Regions from separate parts of the Homo sapiens genome. Here region 1 is linked to region 2. Evidence: promoter capture Hi-C in 16 types of primary human blood cells and fetal thymus (Javierre and others, 2016). All regions are on one chromosome and are shown on one strand. Each heading gives the region's core, a stretch centred on a gene start or on the middle of the fragment in contact. The rest is flanking DNA. Distances are from core to core; before and after follow the strand shown.

The links. The method cuts DNA at HindIII sites, captures the fragments that hold promoters and counts their contacts. A CHiCAGO score of 5 or more calls a contact.
Region 1: a contact is called between a fragment that was not itself captured here and the fragment with the promoter of EPHA1-AS1 in region 2, in 1 of 17 cell types (fetal thymus). The highest score is 5.9, in fetal thymus.

What each region holds. Positions count from the first base shown.
Region 1 is chr7:142,360,153-142,366,134 of GRCh38, forward strand. It overlaps TRB. Among named protein-coding and RNA genes, the nearest start is that of PRSS58, 110 kb to the left of the region's middle. RefSeq lists an enhancer at 5,273-5,904. The HindIII fragment of the contact is 3,097 bases long and covers 1,537-4,633 here.
Region 2 is chr7:143,404,952-143,411,108 of GRCh38, forward strand. It overlaps EPHA1-AS1 (EPHA1 antisense RNA 1), which reads left to right and starts at 2,862. Exons shown (of 5, transcript NR_033897.1): 1 at 2,862-2,935. It overlaps EPHA1 (EPH receptor A1), which reads right to left and starts at 3,905. Exons shown (of 18, transcript NM_005232.5): 1 at 3,773-3,905; 2 at 2,660-2,727. The coding sequence starts at 3,854. RefSeq lists enhancers at 1-392, 3,977-4,589. The HindIII fragment of the contact is 7,900 bases long and covers 2,153-6,157 here.

The DNA of each region.
Region 1 (5,982 bases), core at 1,835-4,334, 1.0 Mb before region 2:
TTTTTGCTAGCTTTGGGATTATTTGTTCTTGTTTTACTATGTCCTCTAAGTGTGGTGGTAGGTTGCTAATGTGAGATCTCTCTAACTTGTTTATGTGGGTGTTTCGTTCTGTAAACAATACTCCTAACACTGCTATAGCTGTGTCCCAGAGATTCTAGTATATTTAATCTTGGTTTTCATTAGTGCCAAAGAATGTCTTGTTTTCTACCTTCATTTTATGGCTTACCCAAGTCATTCACTAGCAGATTGTTTAATTTCCATGTAATTGTATGATTTTGAGAGATCTTATAACTCTTGATTTCTATTTTTTTTGTGCTGTGGTCCAAGAGTATGGTTGACATGATTTCAGTTTTTTTTATAATTTGTTTACAATTAGTCTGTGTCCAATCATGTGGTTGATTTCAGAGTATGTGCCATGTGTAGATGAGAAGAATGTGTATTATGCTGTTATTGGGTGGAGTGTTCTGTAGATGTCTGTTAGGACCACTTAGTCAAATGTTGAGTTTAGTTTATGAATATCTTTGTTAGTTTTCTGCCTTGACAATCTAATACTGAGTGTTGAACTCTTCCAGTATTGTTGTGTGGTTTTCTACGTGTCTGTAGGTCTCTAAGAACTTGTTTTATGAATCCAGCTGAACCAGTGTTGGGTACCTATATATTTAGGATAGTGAGGTCTTCTTGTTGAATTGGGCCCTTTATCATTATGCAATGCCCTTCTTTGTCATTTCTGATAATTGTTGGTTTAAAGTTTGTATTGCCTGAAATTAGAATAGCAACTTCTGCTCTTTTTTGTTTCCCATTGGCTTGGTCATTTTTCTCCATCGCTTTATGTTGAGCCTATGGGAGTTGCATATGAGATGGGTCTCCCGAAGACAGCATACAGTTCAGTGTTTCACTTGTCTATACAACTGGACGCTCTTTTTTTTTTTTTTTTTTTTTTTTTTTGAGATGGAGTCTCGCTCTGTCGCCCAGGCTGGAGTGCAGTGGCGCGATCTTGGCTCACTGCAAGCTCCGCCTCCTGGGTTCACGCCATTCTCCGGCTTCAGCCTCCCGAGTAGCTGGGACTACAAGTGCCCGCCACCACGCCCAGCTAATTTTTTGTATTTTAGTAGAGACGGGGTTTCACCGTGTTAGCCCGGATGGTCTTGATCTCCTGACCTGGTGATCCGCCCGCCTTGGCCTCCCACAGTGCTGGGATTACAGGCGTGAGCCACGGCGCCTGGCAGCTCTTTTAATAATAAACGACTTTTATGTGCTGTGTTTAGCCTGTTTACATTCAAGGTTAATATTAATACGTGTAGATATGATCCTGCCATTGTGTTCTTGCTTGGTTGTTATGCAGACTTGATTGTGTAGTTGCTTTATAATGTCAATGGTCTATGTACTTGAGTGTGTTTTTTGGTGGCTGTTAGTGATCTTTCATTTCTATGTTTAGGACTCCCTTCAGGACCTCTTGTAAGGCAGGTCTGGTAGTAACAAATTCCTTGAACATTTGCTTGTCTGAAGGGATCTTATTTCTCCTTTCCTTATGAAGCTTAGTTTGGCTGGATATGAAATATATAGGGATACTGGTTGGAATTTCATGTCTTTAAGAATGTTGAATATTGGCTCCCAATTGTTTCTGCCTTGTAAAGTTTCTCCTGAAAAACCTGCTGTTAGTCTGATGGGATTCCCTTTGTAGGTGACCTGCCTTTTCTTTCTAGCTGACTTTAATATTTTTTCTTTCATGTTGACCTTGGAGAATCTGATGACTATGTGTCTTGGGGGTGGTTGTCTTTTATGGTATCTCATAAGAATTCTCCGTGTTTCCTGAATTTGAATATTAAACTCTCTAGCAAGGTTAGGGAATTTTTTGTGCTCAATATCCTCCAATATGTTTTCAATGTTGCTTACTCTCTCTCCCCCTCTTTCAGGGACATCAATGAGTCATAGGTTTGGTCTTTTTACATAATCCCATATTTCTCAGAGGTTTACTTCATTCATTTTTCTTTTTTTTCCATTCTTTTTTTGTCTGACTGAATTGATTCAAAAATAAGTGTTCAAGCTCTGAGATTATTTTCTCATTGATTATGCTGTTAATACTTCTGATTACATTATGACATTGTTGAGGTTAGTTTTTCAGCTCTATCAGATCAATTTTGTTCTTTCATAAAATAGCTATTTCATTTTTCAGCTAATGTGTCATTTTATTGGATTCATCAGATTCCTTAGATTGACTTTCAGCTTTCTTCCGAATCTTGATAGTGTTTGTTTCTAACCTGTTTCTGAATTCTATGTCTATCATTTCAGCCGCTTCAGCCTGGTTAAGAATCATTGTTGGGAAGCTAGTGTGTTCATTTGGTGCTAAGAAGGCACTCTGACTTTTTAAGTTGCCAGAGTTCTTTCACTGGTTCTTTCTCATCTCTGTGGTCTGAGGTTTCTTTAATCTTTTAAGCTGATGTCTTTTGGAAGGGTTTTTTGCTTTTATATTCTATGCCCTTGAGGGTTTCACTGTTACATAAGCTGGGTTCAGGAGACTGGCTTCATTTATGGAATATTTCAGGGGGCTAAGATTCAGCTCAGTATTTCTGGGCTGCGTGTTGTAGGCCTGTGGTGCTGGAATTAAGCCCAGAGCTTTGGTTTTTGACCCCTTAAGGTTAAAGCACCTGCTACACCAGAGGGGCTGAGGCGTTCCCAATTCCACTGGCAACAACACTGCAATGGGGAATGCCAGCCAAAGTACTTTTTCCAAATGGTGGCATTGGGGTACATGCTCAGAAGCATGTGCCAATAATGGCAATGTGGCAGTTTCCATACATATGTTTGTGCTAGCTTTTTTATTATTATATAGTAAACTTCTTTGCCTCTTTTTATAGTTATTGTCTTGAAATATATTTTATCTGATATAGATATAGCTACTCCTGATCTTTTCTGGTTTTCACGTGCATGAAACATCTTTTTGTTATCTCTTCACTTTCAATCTATATGTCTTTTTAGGGGAGGTGTGTTTCTTGTAAGTGACAGATCATTGGGTCTTATTTTTATATTCATTCAGCTACTCTATGTCCTTTGATTGGTGAGTTTACATCATTTACATTCAATGTTATTGTTGATAACTAAGTACTGGCTCCTGCCATGTATTTGTTTTCTGGTTGTTTTGTGGTCTTCTCTTCATTTGTTTCTTCTTTCCTGTCTTCTTTTTAGTAAAGGTGATTTTCCCTGATAACGTGTTTTCATTTCTTGTTTGTTATTTTTGTGTATCTGTTGTATGTGTTTGTATTTAAAGTTACTACGTTGCATATGTTTGTATTTAAAATTACTATGCATGAGGCTTGCAAATAATATCTTATACTGATGACAACATAACACTGATTGCCTAAGCAAACAAACCAAAAAAAAACAGAGAAAACTAGTAAAAATCTTATATTTTAACATTGTCCACCTACCTTTCAACTTTGTGTCATTTCTATTTATATCTTAGGCACTGTCTATGTCTTGAAAAGCTGTAGTTTTTTTTTTAATTGGTTCATCTTTTAGTCTTTATAAGTAGTTTACACGCCGTAATCACAGTATTATAATATTGTGTTTTTCTTCGCACTATTATCAGTTAGTTTTGCACCTGCAGATAATTTCTTATTTCTCATTAATGTTCTTTTCTTTCATGCTGAAAAATTATCTTTTGCATTTCTTCTAGGACAGGTCTGGTGTTGAGGAAGTCCCTCATATTTTGTTTGTCTGGGGAAGTCATTATTTCCCTTTCATGTTTGAAGGGTATTTTCACTGAGTACACTATTCTAGTATTAACGTTTTTTTTTTTAGCATTTTAAATATGTCATGCTGCTCTCTCATGACCTGTAAGATTTGCACTGAAAAAGTCTGCTGCTAGACTATATTGGTGGTCCATGGTATGTTATCTGTTTCTTTTGCTGCTTTTAGAATCCTTTCTTTATCCTTGAAATTTTGATTTATCCTTGAAGTTTGATTATTGTCTTGATGTAGTCTTCTTTGACTTAAATATGCTTGGTATTCTATAATCTTCTTTTACTTGAATATTGATATCTTTCTCTAAGTTTGGGAATTTCTCTATTATCATAGCTTTGAATAAACTTTCAGCCCTATCTCTCTCTCTACCTCCTCTTTAAGGTCAATAACTCTTAAAGTTGCCCTTTTGAGGCTATATTCTAGATCTTGTATTTGTGCTTCATTAATTTTTATCCTTTTGTCTCCTCTGGTGGTGTATTTTCAAATAGCCTGTCTTCAAGCTTACTGATTCTTCTGCCTCATCAATTGTGAGGTTGAAACCCTGATGCATTCGTCAGAATGTCAATTGCATTTTCAGCTCCAAAATTTCTGCTTGATTGTTTTTAATTATTTAGCTCTCTTCCGGATTCTGAATTTCTTGGCTGTGTTGTCTTGAATTTTGTTGAGTTTCTTCAAAACAGATATTTTGAGTTCTGTGTCTGAAATGTCACACATCTCTCTCTCTCTCTCTGGGATTGGCCTCTGGTGCTTTATTTGGTTCATTTGGTGAGGTCATGTTTTCCTGAATGGTCTTGAGACTTGTGGATGTTTGCCTGTGTCTGGGCATTGAAGAGTTAAGTATTTATTGTAGTCTTTGCAGTCTGGGCTTGTTTGTACTCGCCCTTGGAAAGCTTTTCAGGTATTTGAATGTACTTGGGTGTTGTAATCTAAGTTTTCTATCTCTGAAACCTTATCTGCATTAGGGAGCACCCCAAGTCCAGTAATTCTGTGGTCCTTGTGGACTCACAGATATACTGCCTTGGTGGTCTTGGATAAGATCTGAAAGAATTCTCTGGATTATCAGGCAGAGACTCTTGTTCTCTTCCTTCACTTTCACTCAAACAAACATCTCTGTCTCTCTCTCTGCTGAACTACCTGGAACTGAGGAGTAGTGGTACAAGCTCCCTGTGGCTGCCATCACTGAGATCCTAGGTCAGAAAAAGCCAGCATGATAATGGGTCTCACCCAAGGTCCACAGTAACCACTGCCTTGCTTGTTGCCTATGTTCAAGGCCCCAGGGATCTACAATCAGCATGTGGAAAAGTCAGCCAGTCTTATACCCTTCCCTTCAGGGTCACGAGGCCCCCTGACCCCAGGCACATCCAGAGATGTTATCCAGGAGCCAGGGCCTGGAGTCAGAAACCTTGGGGATCTAACTGGTGCTCTATTCTGCTGCAACTGAGCTGGCATTCAAGTCACAAGATAAAGTTATTTCCACTCTTCCCTGCCCTTTCACAACCAGAGGAGTCTCTCCCTATGGCTACCACCGCCCCAGGCCCACAGCAAGAATTGCCTGACTATTGCCAATGTTCACTCAAGGCCCAAGGACTCTTTAGCCAGCTTGTGGTAAATGCTGCCAGGCCTGAGACTCTTCTTTCAGGGCAATGGGCTCTCCTCTGGCCCAGGACTGGTCCAGAAATGCAATCCAACAGCAAAGTCCTGGAATCCGGGACCCCAGGAGCCTACTTTGTGCTCTACTCCACTGTGGCCAAGGTGGTAGCTAATCTGCAAGACAAAGGCTCCTTTATTATTCCCTCTCCTTTTATCAAGCAGAAGGAGCCTCTCCTCATATTCATCACAGCTGGGAATGTGCTGCATCACACCTGAAACCAGCATGTCTCAGATTCTCACCTAAGCTCTATGGCAAGTACTACCTGGGCATTGCTGCTGATTATTCAGGGCCCAAGTGCTCTTTATTCAGCAGATGATGAATCTTTCTGGGCCTTGTTCCTTCCCCACAAGGCAGCAGGTTCCCTTCTGGCCCATGGTGTGTTTAGAAATGTCATCCAGGAGCTAGGGCCTAGAATTGGGGCCTCAGTACTCTGCTCATTGCCCTATCTGACTATGGCTGAGCTGGTGTCTGATTTTCAAGAAAAAGTCCTCTTTACTCTTCCCTCTCCTGTCTTTAAGTGGAGAGAAGGTATATTAGGCCATTCTAGCATTGCTATAAAGAATACCTGAGACTGGGTAATTTATAAGAAA
Region 2 (6,157 bases), core at 1,612-4,111:
CATCCCTACCCTCAGCTCTGGGAAAAGGCAAAAAAAAAAATCATTAATCAAAAATTTGGGGTGAGGTGGGGCAGAAATAGAAGCTGCTATGAGGCACATATTTCTGCATTATGTTAGGGAGTTCAAAGATTGGGCAAGGGGTGTCTAAAAGGCAAGGAAGCTGGAATGAAAAAGGCACCAGGAGGCTTCTCCTAAGGAAGGCTGTGCTGGGGAAGCCCAAGTGGAAGGCACTGGCGGGGGTCAGGTGGGCAGGGTGGTGAGTGGTTAACGTGCAGCTCATTAGCCAGATTGCCGTGGCTGAAGCTGGAGCCAGGAGAAGCAGATGTTCCCAGCTGTGCCTTGCCTCTCCCAGTTCCAGCAGTGACAGATGGGCGAGAGCCAGCTGTCCAGGATCAGCAGTAAGGATCCTTTTGCTTATCACTCAGGCGCTGCTGGCTGCCACATGGGTGCATTCTGGACCTGAATGCCTGCGTGTGCATGTGTGCGTGTGTGTGTGTGTGTGTGTGTGTGTTTTGAAAAGATGGGGAGAAGGAGGGGGACAAGGTAGATAGTGGGAGTGTATGACTGCTGGCTGTCTCCTTGCCCTCCTAGCATGCAGGACTGTTTTGCCTGTGCTGAGAAAGTGGCCTTGCTGCCATTCCAGTCAAATTAGGGAAGAGTTATTTGGGTGGAGGTGTCAAGGGCCCAAGGAAGGCCCATGGGAGCCAGAAGTCTGACCTGCAGCTATCACTGTGGGTGATTAGCTGATTTATGAGATAAGTCAACTATTAGGGCTGGATCTTCCAAACGGCCCCTCCTGGAGGATCCACTATGGTTTAGTCTATTAGCTCTAATTACAGGCTACTCTGTAGGAGAACAGAGAACGGAGCCAGGACTGTAGGACCCAGAGGGAAAGAAAGCAAGTAACCCTGACCCCAGAAACAGGGGCTGGATTGAAGTCTCAAGTACTGGGGTAAGGAAGGAAACCCTGAGAGAAGGGGTTCCAGAGCCAGAGTTGTAGATGCTCCAGTAACTTAGGCAGCCCCCTAAGTGGTTCTGTGACCAGCTGTGCTGCTGGCAGAAAGGGTGCTGTGAATTGTAAAATATATATTTGGTCTTTGTCCACATTTCCTGGCAAACAACCCCTAAAGCCCTCAAAATCCCTGAAGTGACAAATGTCTTTTTATATGCTAGTGAGCTGACTGCCGGGGATGGGAACTAGACTGGGGTGGGGGAGGCCTGGGTGGCAGAAGGCAACCTTGTGATTGGAGTTGGGACTTTCGGCCCCACCCCCAACTTCCAGGGAAGGTAGAGAGGTTGAAGGTTGAGCTGATAACCAGTGGGCAATGATCTAATTAATCACGCCTATGTAATGAAGTCTCCATAAAAGCCCAGAAGGATGGGGTTGGGAGGGCTTCTGGATGGCCATACATGATTAGGTCCCTGCAGGGTGGCTCGCCTCCTTCACATATACCTTGCCCCATGCAGCTATTCCATCTGGTGTTCATGGTACCATTTGTAATAACCGTTATAGTAAGCCAGTAAATCCAAGTCAATGTTTCCCTGAGTTCTGTGAGCCATCCTAGCAAACTAATTGAACCCGAGGAGGAGGGTCAGGTAAACCTGATTACAGCCGATGGAACAGAAGTATAGGTGACAACATGTTACTTGTGATTGTTGTCTAGAGGAGGGCAGTCTTGTGGGGCTGAGCCCTCAACCTGAGGCTATCTCCAGGTAGATAGTGTAAGAACTGAATAAGATTAGAGGACACTCAGCTACTGTCCACTGAAGAATCTGCCAGAGAGAACTGACTGCAGGCGGGAGGAATCCCTACACGCATTTTGGTGACCACAGGTCACCGAAGTGATTTGTGTTGAGAGTGCAGTAGGAAAAAACTGAGTTTGGTTTTTTGTACATCATAAGAGCTGCTCTCTGCATTTGAGTCTGAATATGCTCTCTCAGACCCACCTCACAACCTGTTCACTGAGTCTTAGGAACATCCAAGGAAGGAAGGGAACTGGAACAAGCTCTGACACTTTCAAACAGCTGGAATGCATGGTGTGCACGCAGTCAGCCTGAGGAGGTGTGGAGGATGAGCTAAGGGCTCAGAAACCTTTAGGGGAGCAGCTTTTAACTTCGGAGGAGTCAAAGACCCTTTGAAGAATTTGATGAAAGCTTTGGCTGGTCTCTCCAGAAAAAAAAATGCCCGCTTACATATACAGAATTTAGAGTACACTTTCATGGGGTTTCCCCACCCCCTGAAACCTATCAATGCAACTTCATTGGGATGAATGGATCTCAGATTGAGGATGCTTTTCTGCCTTTTCTATCCCTCCCCAAGCAAAGCACTGGTCTCAGCCTTCAACCATCCCCAGCATGGTGCATTCTCTCCCCGGGTATGTGAGCTCCTCTCCCCCTCACAAGTATCAGCTTGTATTCACAATATTCCCAAGTATTCACTGGAGGAGCCAGGCCATTCAAGCGTTCATCTTGAGGTGAAGTCTGACCCCCCCACCCCTTGTCCCATTGAGGAGGCTCTGACTCAGCCTCCTCTCCCCCTCCCTGAGGAGACACTTCCAGTTTTTCCTGCTCTTTTCTCTGTTCCTCCACCCACCTCTCCACCCCATTTCCCACTGGCCTTCAGGAGTTTTCCAAGATCCTTCCCTCTTCCGACACTTACCCCATCTTTTGGGGGATCCAGCAGCCAGCCCAGCTCTCCCTGTGCCTTGCTTGTGTCCATCAGAGTAACTGAAAGTGGGGAGAAAAGAAGTCTGTCACCTCTGGGGGAGGAGGTGCCCCTGCAGCCCACATTAATCATTCTGGGGCCTCAGCCCCAGGCTGCAACATCCTGTTCCTAAAAGCTGTGACTTCCTGAGGCTTAGGGGAGAAAAAGGGCTCAGGACTGAGGAGTGAAGAGCTCCAGGGATTTCACTCTTCTTTGTGTGTGTGAAGGAAGGCAGGTAGAGTGGGACAAGGGTTGGGGCGCTGGGTCTTTGACCAAAGTCAATGCAAGAAGAGCAGCCCCACGAGACGCTCAGTTACCCAGGCTGCTGCGTCCTGGGACACCCATCAGCTGCAGGATTGGAACGCGTGGAGGGCAGGAGGAGCTCACCTCTGCTAGCCAGGAGTGGGCAGGGTGGACCGGGGACCTCAGAAGGGGTTTCCTGGGTAGGGAGGCTCACCTCCACTGTCCGAAGCCTGCTTTGGCCTGACCTGGCCAGTGATCAGAGCCGTGAAGTGGGGATAAGAGGCACAGCTACCTGCCTGGGAAGTGGGGGGGAGTAAGGCCGGAGAGGGTGTTCCAACTTTCACATGGAATATTCGACTCGGACAACTGGGAACCCCTGTGGCGTCAGTCCTAACCCTTCTCCCGGAGGCAGCTCCCTCTGTCCCTGGCCTAGGTTGGCAGGAGGCGACTTCCCACCTTCAACTTCCAAGGGCTCAGATCTCTGGGGTGGGCACCTGAAGCTGGGACTGTCTGGGAATGCAGGCAGGGGTGCGGGTGCAGGTGCTACTTCCTGGCAAGGGTCCGGAATTCCCTCCCCACTCCCAGGAGCAGATTGCTGGCCTGCGGGAGTGGGGGTGACTGACCCGGGAGAGCAGCCGCTTGGGGTTAAAGACCAAAGATGGGCCTGGCCAGTCGATAGCCTGGCGGTCGGGCACAGCGAGAGAGCTGGCGAGGGTCTCGGGGAACATGGCCCCTAGGAATGCCGGCTTCTGCAGGGGGGTGCTGGCCGGGCCCCGGGAAGGGGCGGGGCGCGGGGGTTGGGGGCGCGGGGGCGGGGGTCGGTACCTTCCTTGGCGCGCGCCCCCGGGGGCAGCGGGGCGCAGAGCAGCAGCACCAGCCCTAGCCCCAGGGGCCAGCGCCGCTCCATAGCTCCGGGCCGGGACCTGGGACAGTGGCCCGGATGGCAGCGCCAGGTTGCAAGGGACTAGGAGAGCCGGGCGGGCCGGGCGGGGGCGGGGGGCGGGGCCAGCGCCGGGGGCGGAGTCCCGGCCTCACCTGGTTCACCTCCTTAAAGGGACAGTAGGGCAGGAAAGAAACTTGCTAGACTGGTAATCAAATTCAAGAACCGGAGGCGTCTTGACCCGAATGAGACTGCGGGCGCCGCCTAGTAGGTGGGATTAAGAATTGACGAACCTTTTCCCAATTCTAATCCTAAACTCAACCCAATCTTGATCCAGCTTTTAACCTAATTCTACCTCTGACTTGAATTACACTCCTATATTCCTCTTTCTGTCTTTGTGCAGGCCCCAGAGCTGGGTAATAGGGCCGGGGAAGGCAAGGGGTAAGAGTCATATCTTCACCCTCTAGCAGGGGAGGCTTAGATGACCACAATGCAAGGTGGGGTACAACCTGCAGTGAAGCATCTGGAGATTAGAAGAGGAAGCAAGCCCAGTCATCGGGGCACATTAGTTGAGTCTTCAGGGAGAGCTGGTGTGACCTGGGTTTTCAGTGGCAGAGATTGGGAAAGGCACCAGCAAGGGCCTGAAGGCAGGGAGCCTCAAGGTGCGCCCAGGGAGTGGTGAATGGACCAGTTTGACTGCTGGGGCGCAGGATTTGTCTTGGGAATCAGGGCAGAAAGGCAGGTGTGGGCCAGGGCTGGGTAAACAAGAAAAGGAGTTTGAACCTTGACATGCACTTACACAGCAGACATGAATATCTGGTTAAGGTTCCAGCCACAGGTGGCAGGGAAGGATATTTTAACCCATCTTAGTGGTGTCAAACCACGTGCCCTCTCACTTTCTTGCGGACTTCCTTATATTCTTTTTCTTTTTTGAGATGGAGTCTCGCTCTGTGGCCCAGGCTGCAGTGCAGTGGTGCAATCTTGGCTCACTGCAACCTCCGCCTCCCTGGTTCAAACGATCCTCCTGCCTCAGCCTCCCGAGTAACTGGGATCACAAGCGTCAAGCGTGCACCACCACACCCAGCTAATTTTTCTATTTTTAGTAGAGACGGGGTTTCACCATGTTGGCCAGCCTGGTGTCGAACTCCTGACCTTAGGTGATCCCTCCTGATCTCAAGTGATCTCCCTGCCTCTGCCTCCCAAAGTCCTGGAATTACAGGCCTGAGTTACTGCGCTCTGCCGAGACTTTCTTATATTCTATTTAGTAAATGTTTGTTCAGTTTCTGCTATGCATGCAGGAAGCTCTAGAAGCACCTAAGAACAGAAGGACAATGTCTTGCCCTATATAAGCTATTAATTTGGGGATGCTGGGGGTTGAGACATAAATAATTGCACAAATGATTGAAATGGCGGGCAGGAGTGGACCCCAGGCAAGGTACACACAGGGATCACAGTAGCTCAAAGGGGAGTGATGCATTTACTAAAGAGGCTGGGGGTCCACTCCTGGCCCCTCCTTCTTTCGCTCCATCCCATCTGGGTAAATTGTTCATAATTTTTCTATCATTTACATTGTTGCACATTTCGGTACTGTGAATGAAGGGAGGTGGTGGATTATAGGTGCTTTTTCTCATTTTCAAAATGTAATGCTTCTCAGGTTTTTTGTTTTTTTTTTTTGCTTTCTTATGCAGATACGTATATGACAAACACGGCCCATCAGTTCTTGGCTCAGACTATCCTTATTTGCATAAATAAATGTAATTCATGTACATTGGTTAGGAAATTCATGTTGAACATACAGAAACAAAATGGGAAGTAGAACCCTCTGCCCTCCAACACTCTAATTTCTGTTCCCCAAGTTAACCACCATCAACTGTTTCTTGTAAGTCCTCCCAGGATTGCTTCCTCGCTGTGTACACACCATCGTGTATTTTTCCCTCCCTCTCTCCCTCTACTCCCACACTTACATGCTTTTAAAATGTGTATACAGAGGGGCCATCTGACACACATTGCTCTGCACCAGAGGCCTCTTTTCTAATGTTAAAGACTCCAGGAAGGAGGAGGAGGCTCACGCTGGCTGGCGGGGGTCAGAGCTTTGTGATTTCAGCAGGGAGGAATGGGCGAAGGGTACAAAGCCAACAGAAGGGGGGAAATGGAGCAAGCGTTGGACAATTGCTGCTAGGACATAAGCCAGACTGTGGTGAGGTAATGCATGTGCTTGCTGCTGCAGTTTGTTAAAGTTACAAGACCCTTGGGACTCCAGAGGGTGGGGGGTGGGGGGTGGGTGTGTGGAGTGGGGGAGACTGCTCCATGCAGTGAGACATGGAGTCTAG